2 separate regions of the Homo sapiens genome follow, and region 2 is linked to region 1. The links are contacts of gene promoters, found by promoter capture Hi-C in blood cells and fetal thymus (Javierre and others, 2016). All regions are on one chromosome and are shown on one strand. The core of a region is centred on a gene start or on the middle of the fragment in contact, and the rest is flanking DNA. Distances in the headings are between cores, read along the strand shown.

Region 1 (4,645 bases), core at 686-3,185:
TGCCTTCAGTGGCCCGCATTCTTCCACCAGCCACCACCCTCCGACCCCCTAGCCCTCCACAAGAAGCAGCATTGAGAGAGCTGTGGACTCAGGACCCAGGACTCTGTTTACGTGCCCAGTCAGCCCTACCTGGGGAAGCGGGGGTTGGGTGTTTTAGAGACAGGAGGGACATCTCCGGGTGTCTTTAGTCTTGGCTATGGTAGTTTCAGTCCAGTGGGTGGGATGGAGACCAACGACCAAGTGTTCCTGCAAGGAGAGCCTCCCACAGCTGTCACCATGCTCCAACTCCCACACAAACGCTTCTACCCCTTCCAGAACTTACCCATCATCCCCCCATGGATCCTTTCAGTAAAAACCCTTTCAATTTCCAAAATATCACTGCCTAAGTGTTTCAGGGTGCAGGGGCAAGGGATCCTCTTCTTGGCCCCCATGAGGGCCCACCTATCACTGCCATCGTGGTTGCCAGGAGTGAGAGGTGCTGGGATAGCAGAAGGCGGCCTCTGGTTGGTATGCACGGCTCATCTTCCAGATGGGAAAACCGAGGCTCAGTATGGACAAGAGACCTGCCCAAGGTCATGGCCAGAGAGAAAAGTTCCTGCTCTACCAATAAATCATAACTAATAGCATGATACATTTATTAAGCACCTACTGTATACCTTGACTGCTACATGCTGGATCTCACTCCATATTCCAGATGGGGAAACCAAGGCTGCAGGAGGTGAAGGTCCTGGTCTGAGATCATTCCCCCGCTCAGTCCCCAAGGCATGGCTGAGCTAAGAGATGGAGCCCCAGCCTGTTGGACCACAGAAACCACAACTCTGCCTCTCCTATCTGGTCGGGTTGGGCTCATTTTAGGGGAAACTGAGTCCTGGAAGGAAGCCAAGGTGTTAGGAGAAAGACTCACTGTTTGCTATTGTTTGATTTTTTGAAATTGGGTGAAAGGCCAGGTTTAGGGGCGACTTGGGCCTGGAGTAAGTCAGGGACCTTGACCAGATGTCCCTTTTCCTTTTCTTTCTTTCTTTTTCTTTTTCTTTTTTTTTTTTTTTTTTGAGACGGAGTTTTCACTCTTGTTGCCCCGGCTGATATGCAATGGCACGATCTTGGCTCACCACAACCTCCACCTCCTGGGTTCAAGCAATTCTCCTGCCTCAGCCCCCTGAGTAGCTGGGATTACAGGCATGTGCCACCACACCTGGCTAATTTTGTATTTTTAGTAGAGACAGAGTTTCTCCATGTTGGTCAGGTTGGCCTCGCACTCCTGACCTCAGGTGATCCTCCCATCTTGGCCTCACAAAGTGCTGGGATTACAGACGTGAGCCACCGCGCCCGGCCTAGATGTCCCTTTTTCTTGCCCCTCCCAACCCCTACCGGAGATCTACTGTATGTCTAGCTACTGGATCTTCACCAAAGAGTCAGCAGCAGGCTCAGAGAGGCCAACTGTCTCCTCCAAGGTCTCACAGCCAGTGAGGGGCAGACTTGAATTGGGGCCTGTGGCTCCAGTCCACAGCAGAGTGTGACTATCGTGAGGCCCCCACCCTGCACAGGGAGCGCCTTTGGGGTGCTGGAGACCAGGACTCCACTATGACTACCCAATGGACAGGTGGCCTGCAGGCCAAATGATCTCTTTCACCAGATCCCCCAGGTCCCCTGCCAAAGCACAGTAACCAAGATAGAAGACTCAGCCCCCTCCTCCATTTCAAAGATGGTTAAACTGAGGCTCAGAGAGGTTCTTCCCTGGCCTAAGTTCAGCTAGCAGGGTGAGGGAACTAGCTCTGCACTCCAAGTCCAGAGCGCTTCTTTCTCCGCCCGCGCTCCAGCCACTGCTCCAGGGGAGCGTGGGCCCCCGCGGCCCCTTTAATACACCCCGCCTCGCCCGCCTTCCTCCTCCCCTTGCAGGCAGACGCCGGGATTGCGCCGCCTGCAGGGACCTGCCCAGTCTTAACCGGGTGTGCGGGGAGCGCAGTCCGGGTGCGTAGGGGCCGCTCGGCGGGGGCCGCGCGGGCAAGATGGTAAGTGGGGCTGCGGGCGCGGGTGGTGTGTGCCCCGTCTCCCCAATCTTGGATTCTATATCTCTCTGCCTCTGAATCTATATCCCTCTGAGTTTCTTCTGTCTCTTCCTTTTCTCTGTCTCTCACCCTCTTTGATCTCTCTTTTTGGCACTCTAGGTTCTCTCCCTCTCCATTTCTCCCTGCCTCTCTCCATCTCTGTCATCCTCTCTGCCTTTTTCCTCTCCTCTCCGTTTCTGTCTTTCCCTGTCCCTATCTCTCCCTCCTCTTCTCTGAGTCTCTCTGCCTCTGGCACTCTCCTGTCTCTCCCTCTCCCTTTCTGTCTCTCCCTCTCCCTCTCTGTCGCTCCCTCTGCCTCTCTGTCTCTCCCTCTGCCTCTCTGTCTCCCTCTGCCTCTCTGTCTCTCCCTCTCCATCTGTGTCTCTCCCTCTCCATCTCTGTCTCTTCCTCTGCCTCTCTCTCTCTCCCTCTGCTTCTCTGTCTCTTCCTCTCTGTCTCTCCCTTTCCATCTCTGTCTTTCCCTCTCCATCTCTGTATCTTCCTCTGCCCCTCTGTCTCTCCCTCTGCCTCTCTGTCTCTCCCTCTCCATCTCTGTCTCTCCCTCTACATCTGTCTCTTCTTTTCCATCTGTCTCTCCCTCTCCATCTCTGCCTCTCTCTCTTCCCTTCCCCTTTTTCTGTGTCGCGCACTCTCTTCTCTGCCTCTCCCTGCCTTTCTCTCTGTCCCTGTTCTCTCCCCGCGTCTCTCCCTCTTTCTCTCCAGCTCTCCCCCCTCCCTGCCCGCCCCGGCCCGGTTTGCTGCAGTCTCCTGGCGCACGGATAACCTTGCTGCCGCCGCTCCTCCAGCTCTTCCCCACCCCCCTATCCCCGGCCCGGGCCAGGGCCAGAAGGGGGCGGGGCAGCGAGCCTCGGGTTTTGGGGTGGGGGGGAATGAGGCGGGATCTGGGGCAGGACTGAGGGCGGGGGGGAGTCTAGGGGCGTGGGTTCTTGCAGAAGCTAGGATGTGAGGTCCCAAGAGGAGGAGGGGGAGTTCTCCAGGACCCCGGAAAGGGTGGGGACATGGGCGTGAGAGAGGTCCTCGCTGTGGGGAAGGCAGGCCCGGGAGGGAGCCAGGCCTCCGAAAAGCCAAGGCTGGGAGGCTGGACTGAGCGCCCCGTGCCCGCCCCCCAGGTGTGCGCTCGGGCGGCCCTCGGTCCCGGCGCGCTCTGGGCCGCGGCCTGGGGCGTCCTGCTGCTCACAGCCCCTGCGGGGGCGCAGCGTGGCCGGAAGAAGGTCGTGCACGTGCTGGGTGAGTCAGGGCCGCTAAAAGTGGTCTTCTCCGCGAAAAGCAGAAGTGGCCAAGTGCGGAGAGGGGTAGCGGGTAGGGCGTTCCTGACGTCCGCGGTTCCCCCAGCCACTCCCCATCTGAGCCCCTCGCCCTCTCCCTGAGCCCCTGGACCCTTCTGATTCCCCGACCCCCACCCGAGTCTTCCCACGTTCCCCTCCCCAGAGACACCTTCCCCAGAGGCCCCCTTCTGCCCCTAGGCCCCTCCTCTGAACCCTGCTTGGTTGTCCTCAGAGGGTGAGTCGGGCTCGGTAGTGGTACAGACAGCGCCTGGGCAGGTGGTAAGCCACCGTGGTGGCACCATCGTCTTGCCCTGCCGCTACCACTATGAGGCAGCCGCCCACGGTCACGACGGCGTCCGGCTCAAGTGGACAAAGGTGGTGGACCCGCTGGCCTTCACCGACGTCTTCGTGGCACTAGGCCCCCAGCACCGGGCATTCGGCAGCTACCGTGGGCGGGCTGAGCTGCAGGGCGACGGGCCTGGGGATGCCTCCCTGGTCCTCCGCAACGTCACGCTGCAAGACTACGGGCGCTATGAGTGCGAAGTCACCAATGAGCTGGAAGATGACGCTGGCATGGTCAAGCTGGACCTGGAAGGTGATCAGCCGGTGGGGAGGATAAACCTTGCTTCTGAGGAAGGAGGGGGGCGGGGATGGCAAGGGACATAAACCAAATCAAGTTGGCCTGCAGGCATTTAGAAGGTTGGTTGGGGTAGAGCCCCCATATCTGGTTCTGGGTGATTTTCCTCCCCAGGGACATTGGCGATGTCTGGAGATATTTTACGTTGTCACATCTGGAGAAGGCAGTTGCTACTAGCCCCTAGTGGGTAGAGGCCAGGGATGCAGCTATACATCCTACCAGGCACAGGATAGTCCCCCACAAGGAGTGATCCAGGCCGGGCATGGTGGCTCACGACTGTAATCCCAGCACTTTGGGAGGTTGAGGCAGGCGGATCACCTGAGGTCAGGAGTTCAAGACCAGCCTGGCCAACATGCCAAAACCCCATCTCTAGTAAAAATACAAAAATTAGCCAGGCATGGTGGTGCATTCCTGTAATTCTAGCTACTTGGGAGGCTGAGGCAGGAAAATCTCTTGAACCCGGGAGGTGGAGGTTGCGGTGAGTGGAGATCGTGCCACTGCACTCCAGCCTGGGCGACAGAGCGAGACTCCATCTCAAAAATAAATAAATAAATACATAAATAAAATAAAATAAAAGTGATCCAGTCCAAAATGTCCACAATGAGGACACTGAGAAGTCCTGGGATAGGATTCAGGCACAGTGAGATCCAGGCACTCACACCGTGTCAGGAACCATC
Region 2 (5,323 bases), core at 1,699-4,198, 300 kb after region 1:
TTCCATCTCGGGGATGGCATGCCCATTCGACAGATATGGAGACTGAGGCTTGCTGAGGCGCAGACAGGCACAGACAGGAGTCAAGGATGGTGCCTCCATTTGCTGGACTAGGAGCTGAGGCCGGGGGTCCTCTCGTTTCTCTCAGTGCATGGACGACGTGACCTCGCAGCCTTATTTGTGCACGATCACCCACAGCAGGATCCTTTCATCCTGCTGGTAGCTTAGCCTCAACTGCGTGTAGCAAGAAAGCTCTTCCGCTGCAGTGCTGAGCCGCCCGCTCCGCCCAGCCCCAGCCCCAGCCCCAGCCCACCCGGCGCATCTCAGCCTCTAGCCACGCCCCCAAACCCTCTGCACAGGTGCACTTCGCCCCGCTTCCACCTGATGGGGCAGCCTGGTCCTGCACTGCCCACCCAATAAAGATAGCCCCGCCCCATCAGGCGCATCCTGGACCCAAGTCCACTCCTCCCTATGGGCCGCTGTCTGGTCCCTAGCACCGGCTGACCTTTGCGCCCCGCCTTCTTTCTATACCGTGGATGCAGGAATAGCCTCGTCCCAAAACCTGCCCCTACATGTCCTTGCCGTGTGACCCCGGGAGTATCGTTTCACCTCTGAACCTCAGCTTTCCCCTCTCTACAGTGAGTGGGGGTCGAGCCCCCTCTGTGACTCGATTGATCCACTCCTAGCAGGCTGTTGGATCGACGATCTTTGAGGATGCAGGTTGAGCGCTCAGCATATCACCGGCGCTCAATAAATGGCCTTGTTTCTTCCGTTTGTCTGGAACAGGAGATGCAGAAATAGGCAGTAGTGGCTGGCCATGATGGCTCACACTTGTAATTCCAACACTTTGGGAGGCTGAGGCGGGTGGATCACCTGAGGTCAGGAGTTCGAGACCAGCCTGGCCAACATGGTGAAATCCCGTCTCTACTAAAAATACAAACATTAACAGGGCATGGTTGTGCACGCCTGTAATCCCACCTACTAGGGAGGCCAAGGCAGGAGAATCGCTTGAACTCAGGAGGCGGAGGTTGCAGTGAGCCGAGATGGCGCAACTGCACTCCAGCCTGGGCAACAGTGAGACTCTGTCTCAAAAAAAAAAAAAAAAAGAGCCGGGCGCTGTGGCTCACGCCTGTAATCCCAGCACTTTGGGAGGCCAAGGCGGGCGGATCACGAGGTCAGGAGATCAAGACCATCCTGGCTAACACGGTGAAACCCCGTCTCTACTAAAAATACAAAAACAAAATTAGCCCGGTGTGGTGGCGGGCGCCTGTAGCCCCAGCTACTCGGGAGGCTGAGGCAGGAGAATGGCGTGAACCCGGGAGGCGGAGCTTGCAGTGAGCCGAGATCGCGCCACTGCACTCCAGCTTGGGAGACAGAGCGAGACTCCGTCTCAAAAAAAAAAAAAAAAAAAAATTATGCGGGCATGGTGGTGCATGCCTGTAATCCCAGCTACTCAGGAGGCTGAGGCAGGAGAATCACTTGAACCTGGGAGGCAGAGGTTGCAGTAAGCCGAGATCATGCCATTGCACTCCAGCCTTGTTGACAGAGCGAGACTCCGTCTCAAAAAAAGAGAAAGAAAGAAAAAAAGAAATAGGCAGTAGTTGGAGAGGGCTGGCTGAGGAAGAAGCCAGCAGGTTGGGCAGGGGCAGAAGCCGGCCCTGAACCTCAGTTTTCTTATCTGTAAAAGGGACCTTCAGGCCAGGTACAGTGACTCATGCCTGTAATCCCAGTGGTTTGGGAGGCTGAGGTGGGAAGATAGCTTGAGGCTCCCCTCACTGGACAGCTAGACACACTTCCCTGCTGGACATTCTAAATTAAATTAGCCCCCTAAAAATGTAAGACACAGGCTGAAGGGTGGGGTCCCATCTCTACCTTGCCTTCACTGGCTGCAGGTCTGAGTGCTCATGGATTTTCTTTTTTTTTTTTTTTTTGAGACGGAGTCTTGCTCTGTTGCCCAGACTAGAGTGCAATGGCACGATCTCGGCTCACTGCAACCTCCACCTCCCGGGTTCAAGCGATTCTCCTACCTCAGCCTCCTACGTAGCTGGGATTTCAGGTACGTGCCACCACGCCCGACTAATTTTTTGTATCTTTAGTGGTGATGGGGTTTCACCATGTTGGCCAGGCTGGTCTCAAACCCCTGATCTCAGGATCCATCCACCTCGGCCTCACAAAGTGCTGGGATTACAGGCACGAGCCACCGCGCCCGGACGGTCATGGGTTTTCTTGTCATTGGTGGTGTTTTGAAACAGAGCCTCACTCTGTCACACAGGCTGGAGTGCAGAGGTTGATCACGGCTCACTGCAGCCTTGATCCCAGGCTCAAGTGATTCTCCCACCTTAGTCTCCCAAGTAGCTGGGACTATCGGTGTGCGCCACCACACCCAACTAATTTTTTTATTTTTAGTAGAGATGGGATTTCACTATGATGGCCAGTCTGGTCTCAAACTACCAGGCTCAAGCAATCTGCCCGCCTCAGCCTCCCAAAGTGCTGGGATTACAGGCGTGAGCCTCGGCACCTGGCCCAGACAGTCTTTTATTTATTTATTTTCCGAGACAGGGTCTCACTGTGTCACCCAGGCTGGAGTACAGTGGCACAATCATGGCTCACTGCAGCCTCTAATTCCTGGGCTCAAGCGATCCTCCCACATCAGCCTCCTAAGAAGCTTGGACCACAGGCATGCACCACCATGCCTGGCTAATTTTATTTTATTTTTTGTAGAGATGGGTTTTGCCATGTTGCCCCAGACTGGTCTCAATCTCCTGGGCTCAAGTGATCCCCTGGCCCCAGCCTCCCAAAGTACTGGGATTACAAGCATGAGCCACGGCACCCAGCCAAATTGGGATTTATAAAAACCTTTGTCAAGAGAGTGTAGGCTGGGCACGGTGGCTCACCCTTGTAATCCCAGCACCTTTGAGAGGCCGAGGCAGGTGGATCACTTGAGGTCAGGAGTTCAAGACCAGCCTGATCAACATGGTGAAACCCTGTTACTACTAAAAATACAAAAATTAGCAGGGCATGGTGGCGCATGTCTGTAGCCCCAGCTACTCATGGGGGCTGAGACAGGAGAATCACTTGAACCCAACAGGCAGAGGTTGCAGTGAGCCGAGATTGTGCCCTGCACTCTAGCCTGGGTGACGGAGTGAGAAACTGTCTCAAGAAATTTAAAAAAAGGAGAGTTTAAATGCTGGCCAAGGACCAAGGAAACCAATCAAGGGGCCTCAGGGTTCAAGCTTTATGTTTGGGGACAATCTTAGGCCATAGGATGGGGTGACCTCCCTGCCAGCCTTGTAGCCTACTCACTTGAGGCTCAGCGGTCCCTCCCTCAGACAGGGACCTCCATTCTGTCACCTACGATGACACCTTCTTTTCTTGTGGGATCCACTGTTTGGAAACGTGTGTAATCAATCCCAGCACTTTGGGAGGCCAAGGAGGTGGGCGAAATCACCTGAGGTCGGGAGTTCAAGACCAGCCTGGCCAACATGGTGAAACCCCGTCTCTACTAAAAATACAAAAATTAGTCGGACATGGTCGTGCGTGCCTGTAGTCCCAGCTACTCATAAGGCAGAGGCGAGAGAATCGCTTGAACCTGGGAGACGGAGGTTGCAGTAAACCAAGATTGTGCCATTGCACTCCAGCCTAGATGACAGAGTGAGACTCTGTCTCAAAAAAACAAAAACAAAAACAAAAACTTTTTTTTGGTAGAGACAGGATCTTGCTGTGTTGCCCAGGCTGGTCTCGAACTCCTGGACTCAAGCGATCCTCCATCCTGGGCCTCCCAAAGTGCTGGGATTATAGGCACGAGGCGCCATGCCTGGTTTATGGCTTCTGATTTTAATCTACATCTTGCAAAGCAAATATCTCTAACATTCATTTGCAAATGTCAGACATTCAGAGAAATGGACACACTCACCCATCACTGCTGGGAGCCAAGTAAGGTCCCCTGTATGGAAGGTGATGTGGTCTTAAGTATTCATCAAAAATGCTGAAAAGCTGGGTTCAGGGATGAATGCCTGTAGTCCCAGCTACTCAGGAGACTGAGGTGGAAGAATCACTTGAATCCGGGAGTTCTGGGCTGTAGTGCACTATGCCAATTGGGTGACTACAGTAAGTTTGGTGTCAATATGGTGACCTCCCAGGGAGCGGGAGACCACCACCAGGTTGCCTAAGGAGAGGTGAACCGGCCCAGGTTGGAAACTGAGTAGGTAAAATTCTTGTGCTGATCAGTAGTGGGATCACACCTGTGAATAGCCACTGCACTCCAGACGGGCAACATACTGAGACCCCTGTCTCAAAAAAAAAAAAAAAAAGGAAAAGGAGAAGGAGAAAACTTGAAAACGTGTGTTTGGCTGGGCTCGGTGGCTCATGCCTGTAAACTCAACACTTTGGGAGGCCGAGGCCGGTGATCACTTGAGGTCAGGAATTTGAGACCAGCCTGGCCAACATGGTAAAACCCCATCTCTACTAAAAACACAAAACTTAGCCGGCCGTGGTGGTGGGTGCCTGTAGTCCCAGCTACTTGGGAGGCTGAGGCAGGAGAATCACTTGAACCCAGGAAGTGGAGGTTGCAGTGAGCCGAGATTGCGCCACTGTACTCCATCCTGGGCGACAGAGTGAGACTGTCTCAGAAAAAAAAAAAAAAAAAAGAAAATGTGTTATTCTATTTGTTAGGCTGTCCCCAGAGAGTGACCTAGATGTCCAACCATAGGAGATCTGTTTAACAAACCATAGAAAAGCTTCAAGGTGAGTGATGCTGAAGTCTCTGAACTCAAGAATGTACACTGGAATTTGGCCTTGACTGACAAATCATGTGTATAGTGTAATTCCATTTGGGCTAAGAAAAAAAAGAAAGAAAGAAAAAAAATCTAGATGGAAATAGACCATCGTGTTAGTAACAGTTATTTCTGGGCATTGATTTTATTTTTAAAATTTTGTTCACTCAACAGATATTTACAGAGCACCTGGTCCGTGTCAGCTAGGGCCAAGGGCAAGGATGGCATCTGAATTTGTTTACTTAGTTTGTTTCCTGTGCCAGCATTTTAAAATTTACCAATAAGCACCAGGCATAAAGTAAATAGGTATTAAAAATTCAGAAAGGAAATTAAACGCTATGACAAGGGACCTATTTAGATTATTTACGTTACACGTGTCTGTGCTTTCTAAAACTGTTTTTACAATGAGCATACATTATTTGGAGAATCAGAAAAGAGGCCGGCACGGTGGCTCATGCCTGTAATCCCAGCACTTTAGAAGACTGAGGCGGACAGATCATTTGAGGTCAGGAGTTCGAGACCAGCCTCGCCAACATAGTGAAACCCCGTCTCTA

Evidence for each region. Contacts are between HindIII fragments. The CHiCAGO score rates a contact against its expected background, and 5 or more counts as called.
Region 2: a contact is called between a fragment that was not itself captured here and the fragment with the promoter of HAPLN4 in region 1, in 1 of 17 cell types (erythroblasts). The highest score is 5.9, in erythroblasts.

The regions. Positions count from the first base shown.
Region 1 is chr19:19,260,094-19,264,738 of GRCh38, reverse strand. It overlaps HAPLN4 (hyaluronan and proteoglycan link protein 4), which reads left to right and starts at 1,935. Exons shown (of 5, transcript NM_023002.3): 1 at 1,935-2,009; 2 at 3,176-3,293; 3 at 3,564-3,926. The coding sequence starts at 2,007. It overlaps TM6SF2 (transmembrane 6 superfamily member 2), which reads left to right. Exons shown (of 10, transcript NM_001001524.3): 10 at 1-373. The coding sequence ends at 75. The HindIII fragment of the contact is 10,345 bases long and covers 1-4,645 here.
Region 2 is chr19:18,956,925-18,962,247 of GRCh38, reverse strand. It overlaps the pseudogene RN7SL70P. Among named protein-coding and RNA genes, the nearest start is that of HOMER3, 18 kb to the right of the region's middle. The HindIII fragment of the contact is 568 bases long and covers 2,665-3,232 here.